Regions from separate parts of the Homo sapiens genome. Here regions 1 and 3 are each linked to region 2. The links are contacts of gene promoters, found by promoter capture Hi-C in human tissues and cell types (Jung and others, 2019). All regions are on one chromosome and are shown on one strand. Each heading gives the region's core, a stretch centred on a gene start or on the middle of the fragment in contact. The rest is flanking DNA. Distances are from core to core; before and after follow the strand shown. Region 1 holds the start of GDPD1 (glycerophosphodiester phosphodiesterase domain containing 1). Region 2 holds the start of TEX14 (testis expressed 14, intercellular bridge forming factor). Region 3 overlaps CUEDC1 (CUE domain containing 1).

What was found. Contacts are between HindIII fragments. The study calls those that stand out against the background at their distance.
Region 1: a contact is called between the fragment with the promoter of GDPD1 here and the fragment with the promoter of TEX14 in region 2, in 1 of the 25 tissues and cell types used here (stomach).
Region 3: a contact is called between a fragment that was not itself captured here and the fragment with the promoter of TEX14 in region 2, in 1 of the 25 tissues and cell types used here (IMR-90 fibroblasts).

What each region holds. Positions count from the first base shown.
Region 1 is chr17:59,219,140-59,222,339 of GRCh38, forward strand. It overlaps GDPD1 (glycerophosphodiester phosphodiesterase domain containing 1), which reads left to right and starts at 1,372. Exons shown (of 10, transcript NM_182569.4): 1 at 1,372-1,612. The coding sequence starts at 1,471. RefSeq lists an enhancer at 1,398-1,948. The HindIII fragment of the contact is 11,394 bases long and covers 1-3,200 here.
Region 2 is chr17:58,690,464-58,693,332 of GRCh38, forward strand. TEX14 (testis expressed 14, intercellular bridge forming factor) reads right to left here and starts at 1,582. Exons shown (of 32, transcript NM_031272.5): 1 at 1,476-1,582. It overlaps IGBP1C (IGBP1 family member C), which reads right to left and starts at 1,582. Exons shown (of 2, transcript NM_001395966.1): 1 at 1,476-1,582. It overlaps RAD51C (RAD51 paralog C), which reads left to right and starts at 2,139. Exons shown (of 9, transcript NM_058216.3): 1 at 2,139-2,325. The coding sequence starts at 2,181. RefSeq lists enhancers at 1,897-1,996, 2,327-2,496. The HindIII fragment of the contact is 12,262 bases long and covers 1-2,869 here.
Region 3 is chr17:57,916,388-57,919,518 of GRCh38, forward strand. The region is part of intron 1 of CUEDC1 (CUE domain containing 1); the gene reads right to left. Among named protein-coding and RNA genes, the nearest start is that of CUEDC1-AS1, 5.8 kb to the left of the region's middle. The HindIII fragment of the contact is 7,776 bases long and covers 1-3,131 here.

The sequences.
Region 1 (3,200 bases), core at 122-2,621, 530 kb after region 2:
TGGCGCCTTCTCGGCTCATTGCAACCTCTGCCTCCCGGGTCCAAGAGATTCTCCTGCCTCGGCCTCCTGAGTAGCTGGGATCACAGGCACACGCCACCACCCCTGGCAAATTTTTGTATTTTTAGTAGAGATGGAATTTCGCCATGTTGGCCAGGCTCCTGACTTCAAATGATCTGCCCGCCTCAGCCTCCCAAAGTGCTGGGATTACAGGCTTGAGCCACCGTGCCCAGCCACCCCCTATTTTCTTCTAATTTTCTTTTTATAGTTGAGATAGGGTCTTGCTCTGTCGCCCAGGCTGGGGTGCAGTGGTGCAGTCATAGCTCACTGCAGCCTCGATTTTCCAGGCTCAAGCAATACTCCCACTTCAGCCTCCCAAGTAGCGTGACTACAGGTGCACGCCACCACGCCGGGCTTATTTTGTTTTATTTTTTGTAGAGATGGGGTTTCGCCATGTTGCCCAGGCTGGTCTCGAACTCCCGGGCTCAAGCGATCCACCCTTCCTTCCCGGCCTCCCTAAGTGCTGGGATTACAGGCGTGGGCCACCGCGCCCGGCTGAATCAGGATTTTAAATATTCACTCTGCTTTTCTAGTCCTGTGGGAGATATGGTCTTCTCCGTAAAATTTCTCCCTCAGTCCTGGGTGATTTATTTCTTTTGCATTGAAGTGTGTGGCTTTTCGTGTGTTAGCAGTTTGTAATTTGTCGGGTAAAAGGAAAACTAGTAGGGCCTTCTGGAACTTAGTTATCTGTCTTTCTAGGACTTTTAGGTAATACCTTATAACCTTAACAAAGTTTCCTTATTTTATACGGACTTGTAAGTCAACAAATACTTCTACAGTGCCTATTGTGTACAAAGAATGAGGATTGCACTTTCACAATGAAATGAGGGAGGACAGGGGCCGATCTCTCAGATATTTGACTGATAAACCAGTACCTTTTCTAGTATATGCGACCATAGGGGAAATTCTCTCTAGGCTAGATAAACGGAGGAGTTTATTTAGTGTTTTAGCAAGCTTTATCGCCTCCATAGGTACAAATTATTTGCATTTTCTAGAGCAAGGGATAAGACGCGCCCTGGAATCTTTCCTTTTTGATGTGGATTTTCCAATTAGGAAAGGCTGCCCGTGAATAGTCTTTTCTGCTTGAGTGATGGCCAACACACTGGCAGGTTTGCAAGCTTTCTCTTCATGAGGGTCCGTCCACAGAGCTAGGTGACAAACGCTCAGTCCAGGATCTCTGCAGGTTCCTACACGGGAGCCGGAGAGCGCCTGCGCGTCGGAGCCTCTTTGTTGCTGGGGCGCTGGGGTCCAGCTGCGCGTGCGCAGTAGGCCGGCACCGACAAGTGCGCTGCACCAGTGGCACCGGCTGGGGGCGAGCCGACCTCGAGCAGCCGCCGCCGCCGCCGTCGTTGCTACTGCCGCAGCGGAGTTCAGAGGGCCCGGAGGTGGGAGACTTCCCACACGGTGACTGAGATGTCGTCCACTGCGGCTTTTTACCTTCTCTCTACGCTAGGAGGATACTTGGTGACCTCATTCTTGTTGCTTAAATACCCGACCTTGCTGCACCAGAGAAAGAAGCAGCGATTCCTCAGTAAACACATCTCTCACCGCGGAGGTGAGAGGGGTCCCCAGAACCCGATGACGGAGGTGGGGGAGGCTGAGGGTCCTTTGCGGCTCCGCAAAAGGCAGCCGGGTGCCAATCCCTGAGAGTTTGAGGAAGAATGGGGTTGTGTGAATTGAGGGCTCTTCCGGAGGTGAAGGCTGTGTGAAGGGAAGGTCTCCTGAGGGGAGGGAAGGAGAGGGATTCCCGGTCAGAGCCACGGCGGGGGTCTCTCGAGGGCAGCAGTGTGAGGGGTTCTCTGAAACGGGAAAGACACGGTCGAGAATGAAGGGTAGGTGGAGCGTTTCTCGGCGGATGGAAGGATGATCGCAAGGTCCCTTCCTAGCAGCAAGACACAAAGGGGGAGCGCCGTGCAGAACCGAGGGTACCCCGCGGGGGGCACCGGGAGCACACTGCTCCGAGCGAGCTAGTGGCTGAGTGGATGGGAAGAGCCGAGGCGACGAGGAGGGCTGGGGATTTGCATGAAGCTGGACGAGCTGTAACCCCTTGTCTGCGGTGCTGGGGGCCCGTCCCACCCCCACGTTCCGAGCACTCATAATTGAGAAGAGAGGGAAACCGAGTCCCCCGAGCCAGGGACATTTCCCAAGGTCACAATTAGAGCTAGGGCTGAACTGAGACAGGAGCTACAGCGTCCTGGTCCTCAGGGCTGGAAACCTTGCATCTTTTTTTTTTTTTTTTTGAACACTGCAATAAATAAATAAATAAATAAATAAATAAATAAACACGCAAAGACACGTGGATTTTCAACAGACTAAAAATGATTTCGTTTAGGACAGGACAGTATTGTTTAAAGAAAACAAAAATAAGTTTCTTTTGGAAAAGTGTTTTGCTAAAAGGAGCCCAGGTAGTCCACCCTCTAATTTCCCAGATAACAGGCCAAATCTTTGCTTCTTCATTATTGTGTAATAATGTGTCTTCATTGCATTTCAACTATGATGTATAAAGTGCGGTGAAATTGGATTATTTTCAATCAATTTTAACTGTTCTTTAAGGCTGAATCTTAAACCGGTTTAAAATTTGCTTGAAATTTAATACACACTTGAAATGATAATTTCTAGGAGTTTACAGTCTAAAACTTGGTGTAGTACCATAATCACTTTACTAACAAGTATTGGCCAAGGAAAAAGGTTTTGAAATATAAATACGGAAGTACATTATCATTCTTCTATATAATTTTATTAGTTAAGCATAGTTCTAATGAGTGACTTCAATAGTATTCTAGCCTTCCCACTCATGAAAAGCCTCAGAGGTTTTAAAGGGTGGTCAGCCAAATGCCTTGTTATTGTTTATTTGGGTTATCTGTTTTAATAGCTACCTGGTTAAACTGTAGGATGACATTTAACTACTAAGGTGCCTTCAACCATTGGAACCAGGGACCGACTTTTAGTATTCAAGTTGCTGTCACAGAAGCAATTTTCTTTTTTCTTTTTGTGTTTTTGTTTGTTTGTTTTTTTGTTTGTTTGTTTTGAGATGGAGTCTCGGTCTGTCACCCAGGCTGAAGTGCAGTGGCGCGATCTCGGCTCACTGCAAGCTCCTCCTCCCGGGTTCACGCCATTCTCCTGCCTCAGCCTCCCGAGTAGCT
Region 2 (2,869 bases), core at 332-2,831:
CCAAAGTAGTTTTGAACTTTCCACTGTCAACGAAAGAAATTCTAAACACGACTGATTCCACTGAGTTTGACCAAACTAACTGAAGACTTATTGTTGAATGTGGTAATACCATGTTTTTTCTTCACCCAAGAATCTGGGTGCTTTATAAGCATAAGCATGAAATCTCCCTGAAGATAGTATTTATGCATCCACTGAGCGCTCAAATATAGACCATATTAGAAGTTAAGCAATGGGTTGAGTGGCCAACCACATTTTGGCCAGTCCTACAAGACTTTCTTTGACCTACCAAATGGGGTATAAATGCTTCTCGTATTCTCCCCGCCAGTAGGGACTCAAAATCTTAATAGCTCGGGGTAGTAAAAAGGATGCTAGGTTTGAATCTTGGCTTTAAGAAAACTGTGCTGAGGTGTTTTGTTTGTTTGAGACAGGGTTTCACTCTATCACCCAAGCTGGAGTGCAGTGGCGTGATCATAGCTCACTCCCAGGCTGAAGGGATCCTCCCACCACAGACTTCTGAGTAGCTGGGACGACCGGTGCATGCCACCATGCCCGGCTAATTTTTTGTACTTTTGGTACAGACAGTGTTTCGCCATGTTGTCGAGGCTGGTCTCAAACTCATGAGCTCAAAGAGATCCACCTGCCTCGACCTCCCAAAGTGCTGGGATTACAGGCACGAGCCACTGCGCCCGGCCAGCTTTTTTTCTTTTATCAGAATTGATATTAAACTATATGCTGAGCTTCCATGTCCTTATCTTCCTTTTGGCATGGCTATGGCCATTTGAAATGTGTGGGATTTGCTAAAGTGCTCAACATACGTTGTTTCCTTTTTTAGATCTAAGTATGTAGAGGGCTCTGATTTGCAATATTTAGAAAGTTCTTCTAAGCTGGGAAGAAAAGTCAAGACTAAGAATCATTGCCAACAGGGCCGGGCGCGGTGGCTCACGCCTGTACTCCCAGCATTTTGGGAGGCCGAGGCAGGCGGATCACGAGGTCAGGAGTTCGAGACCAGCCTGGCCAATATGGTGAAACCCCTTCTCTAATAATAATACAAAAATTAGCCGGGCATGGTGGCGTGCGCCTGTAATCCCAGGTACTCAAGAGGCTGAGGCAGGAGACTCACTTGAACCCGGGAGGCGAAGGTTGCAGTGAGCCGACATCGTGCCACTGCACTCCATCATGGGCAACACAGTGAGACTCTGTCTCAAAAAAAAAAAAAAAAAAATCGCCAATAGGTAGGGAATAAGTTACCCCCTGCTAAATAAGTTACACTCACCTAGGCAAGGAAGGAACTCATAAACCACCTTCTAAACTGCTTGCCTTCCTCCCCGAAGTTCTGTAATTTAGAGGCGGTCACTACCACTGCTTGAACACCCCTTCCCAAGTCTGTACCACAAAAGGAGCTCTTGTGTAGCCCAGCCCCTCCTTCTCAGGACCCCAGGAGCCCAGACACACTAATGGGGACATTAGTTGCTTACTTTTCCAGCTACTGCTTAAGCTAGGCAGGCCATGAAGAAATAACGGTCTCAGTAACCTCCATGCTCGGGATACGACTCCCGGGAAGACGTGGGTGGGTGCGGGGAATGCGGACTGATCCCTCCCAGCGGCCGTTGGGGGCTGGCCCACAATCCCTCGCGAGGGCGGGAAAAGCAATGTGGTCGTTGCGGGGGGGGGGGGTCAGAAAAGGGGGACGGTCAGCGGGAAGAGCCAAGAGACTGCAACTCTACAAAGAGCACGCAGATTAATTCTAATGATTGTTCCCTGAGCTTTTCACACCAAAATAATGGTAACTGGCTAGTGTGTGCCCGTTACGCTCACTACTCCCACTCGAGATCATTCCTATTAATGACTCTGAGGCTTCACCTAACAGGCCACGGTGGAGGCAAGGAAATGTGGCGTGGAGAACCCACTGGGCCTGGCTCTCCGTCCTATGGTCTCCGTCCATCGTTTTACAGTCAGGGTGTACATTTGATGAGGAATCTCTAAATGGGATTTTGGGGAATCAAAACGGAATGGTGCATAAGTGTGAAAATTTACAAGACTGCGCAAAGCTGCAAGGCCCGGAGCCCCGTGCGGCCAGGCCGCAGAGCCGGCCCCTTCCGCTTTACGTCTGACGTCACGCCGCACGCCCCAGCGAGGGCGTGCGGAGTTTGGCTGCTCCGGGGTTAGCAGGTGAGCCTGCGATGCGCGGGAAGACGTTCCGCTTTGAAATGCAGCGGGATTTGGTGAGTTTCCCGCTGTCTCCAGCGGTGCGGGTGAAGCTGGTGTCTGCGGGGTTCCAGACTGCTGAGGAACTCCTAGAGGTGAAACCCTCCGAGCTTAGCAAAGGTAACGACTCCTGATGGCAAGCTGAGGCACACCGGCCGCCGTCAGCGCCGCCTCAGTCTTCGTTCTCTCGCCTCGGCCTTCAGCCCAGTCTCCGTTAGATTCTGCTTCCTCCCACGTCCATGTTTACAGCGTGAAAGAGCTCCTCGACTCCACTTACAAGTTGTCTGAATGGTTAGGAGAACTGTGGTCGTGAAAACATTTACTAATTGCTTTTCCTCTGGCAATGCCTGCTGAATGCTTTGAGGATTGTCTCATTTAACCCTCAACCCGCTTACGTAGATTATTATATTCAGTATATGGATGAGAGAACTGATATCTTGGGGAGCTTAGGTAACTTTTCATGCTAACTGGGTTAGGAAATACTGGAGTCAGAATTGGTTGTCTAATTTTTGCTGTTCCAAGATCCAAGGGGTAAGGGTTAAATTTCAGAAATGCAGGATTTTGTGTAGGACTAGAGACACTAAGAATGAGAAAGAGAGTAGAATCCCCGGAATCTTGAGGAAGCATAGAAAGAATATTCTCTTACGTAATTAACTGAAACACC
Region 3 (3,131 bases), core at 185-2,684, 770 kb before region 2:
TCCTCCCACTTTGATCCCAGAGAGGGGAGGGGGTGGAGAGTCCAGAGAAGTCCCCACTTGGCATCGATTTGCCCAAAGCAAAGGCAACACAAAGGCTGCACCTGTTTCCATGGAGATGCGACGGGGAAGCAAAGGAACAAAACAGGGAGAAACACAAACCCGTCACCACCTCCCAGGCCAGTGTGATCGATGCTGGCAGACCAGAGCCCTGACAGGAAGACAGCGGAAGGATGAAAGGTAATCAGTGGATCTAGAAGCCACACTGGGAGCCCTTTCAGGCCACAGAGAGGAGGCCAGCAGCCTCGCCCACCCCCAGGCTCACAAACTCGCCTGGGCCCCGCTCTCGAGAACCAGTCCAAGCAAAAACTCCCAGACGGAAATCCACAGTGAGCACTTACTTTACAAAAGGATTCCTTGCTTGACTAAGGGATTCCTTCAAGCAGCAAAATCCCACCTGGAGTGCACTGTCTGTTTTATTTCATTATTCACTTCTCTGAGCAGGAGGAGGAGGGGGTCAAGGGAGTAACTTCCAGGGGAAAGTTTGTGAGAAGAGATGAGGGGATGGAGGGGTGGGGACTGGACTCTGTTCATAAAACATCTCCTAGGAGAGGCCCACAAGAAAATGGAGACGTGGTGACTTTAGAAGAGAAAGGTGAGCAGGCTAAGCGCCTGAGGCCCATCCAATAGGGAGGACATGGGAACCTGAACAGTGGAGAAGAATGGGCGGCAACAGGTGTCCCACTAGGTCCCTGAGGTTGCCACAGGTCCCATCAGGGCACACAGGTGCTCTCAAAACCACTGGGCTATGGGGAAATGTGGGGGCAGCCTCATCTCCCCCAGGGCAACAAGGCCAGTGGCTTGATGCCTCCCCGGGTGAATGTTGGAGGAAGATGACAACAAGAGGCCCAGCAGATGGCAGCGGCTCAGAGGCTGTCATAAGGGCCTCTTGACTGGCACTCATTGTTCATCAGGTGACACATACTAAGTGCCACTTAGCACATGTGGTCATCCTGGGACGAAGGGGCAAGGCCATGCACCAACACAATCCTGCCCTTGGAGAGTCTCAACCAGGCCTTCACTCCACGGAGTCTCTTCCTGACTATAATTCTTACAGGGAACAAAAACCAAGGATAACAATAATACTTACTGAGCATGCCATGTGGGCCTGACACTAACACTTGTCTCATTGATCCTCTCAACCATCCCATGAGAGAGAGGCCTTTCTTCTCCCCATTGACTGATGTGGAGACAGGCACAGAGAGGTAAATAACTCACCCAAGGTCACACAGCGAGTAAGTGGCAAAGCTAGGATTCAAAAATAGGTCTGCCCAACTTCAGAGCCTGTGAACAGCAGGCTCAACACCTGCCACATCAGCCTCATTTAACAGGCAGAGACACTGAGGCTGAGAGAATGCAGGTGACGTGCACTGAGGCAGGGGCAGAGGCTGAACTCTGAAGACTACTCCTCCTGACCCACCCCAAGGCTTTTTTGCCTTGTGATGCCTCCACTAGGAATGCCAGCTGGCTTTTTTGGTGGGGTACATGGACTGCTCTGTGTAGTCACTCTCCTGTTCTGGACCTCAGTTTACCCCCTCAACAAGGTGGCATCGTTAGAGTGTGAGCCCCTGCTGTCTCACTGAGAGGAGCTGAGAAGAAACATGGGGCGTGCATTCAAGGTGTTACCAGGGAGCTGGTGGGAGAAGCAGTCTCAGTCTCAAAGATCCACAAGCTCTGTAATGTCCACAGAGCAAAATCCTAGGTAGGATATCCAGGCTGCTACTCAACAGTCTTCCCACCAGAGTACATGTGCAAAACCCTCAGGGAACCTGGGGACTTCCCAGAAGTATTCAGACATGGATGGCTTCCAGGGAATCAACTTCTGAAAGCTCCACTTCCTGTGCTTCTTCCTAAAACTGATCAGCCGGGAACCCTCTGGGTCTGCCAGTTCTCCCCTCACCAAGGCCCTCCTAAACACTTCCCAAAAGAAAGGCCTACCCCCAGTCATCCCAACCTCACCCTGGTATCCCGCCCTGGGTTATAAAAGCCACCAAAGAGACAACGGAAGAATGCAGCCCTCATGGGAGGAGTTCCAGCAGGACAAAGAACTTCCTTAAGATGTTGAGAAGGGGGCCTTATCTATCTTACCTACCCATCTGTTTATTTTAGGATTAGAATTAGGAAGCTGACACAGGGACACCTGTTTAACCTGTTTAATAAATATTTGAATTAAAAAGAGGAGTCAGAGTTTTTCCGACACAAAGTATGATTTGGCTGGCTGGTCTAACCACAAGATCCAGCCTGGCCAATTAGGAATTATGGTGGATGTTTTCCACAACTGCCTGGGCTGGGTTTGCTGTTCTAAGGCTTTGACAAAAATAAATTTGAAGCAAGTAGATGGCATACAATAGGCCTGGAAATACATTCCACTTAAAGTTATGATAAAACATTTTATATGTCAATTTTTATTTTTATTTTTATTTTTCTGAGATGGAGTCTCACTCTGTCACCCAGGCTGGAGTGCAGTGGCATGATCTTGGCTCAGTGCAGCCTCCACCTCCCGGGATGAAGCGATGCTTCTGCCTCAGCCTCCCCAGTAGCTGGGATTACAGGCGCCTGCCACCACGCCCAGCTAATTTTTGTATTATAGTAGAGACAGGGTTTCTCCATGTGGGCCAGGCTGGTCTCGAACTCCTGACTCCAAGTGATCCTCCTGCCCTGGCCTCCCAAACTGCTGAGATTACAGGTGTGAGCCCCTGCACCCGGGAATATATGTCAATTTTTATGTTTTCTTAATTAATTTTTCTTTTGTGAGACGGAGTTCTGCTCTTGTCATCCAGGCTGGAGTACAATGGCGCGATCTCGGCTCACTGCAACCTCCGCCTCCCGGGTTCGAGCAATTCTCCTGCCTCAGCCTCCCAAGTAGCTGGGATTACAGGCAGGCACCACCATGCCTGGCTAATTTTTGTATTTTTAGTAGAGACAGGGATTCACCAAGTTGGCCAAGCTGGTCTTGAACTCCTGACTTCAAGTGATCTTCCCTCCCTGGCCTCCCAAAGTGCTGGGATTACAGGCGTGTGCCCGGCGATATATGTCAATTTTTTAATATATGAGGGGATACACAGTTGTTCAAA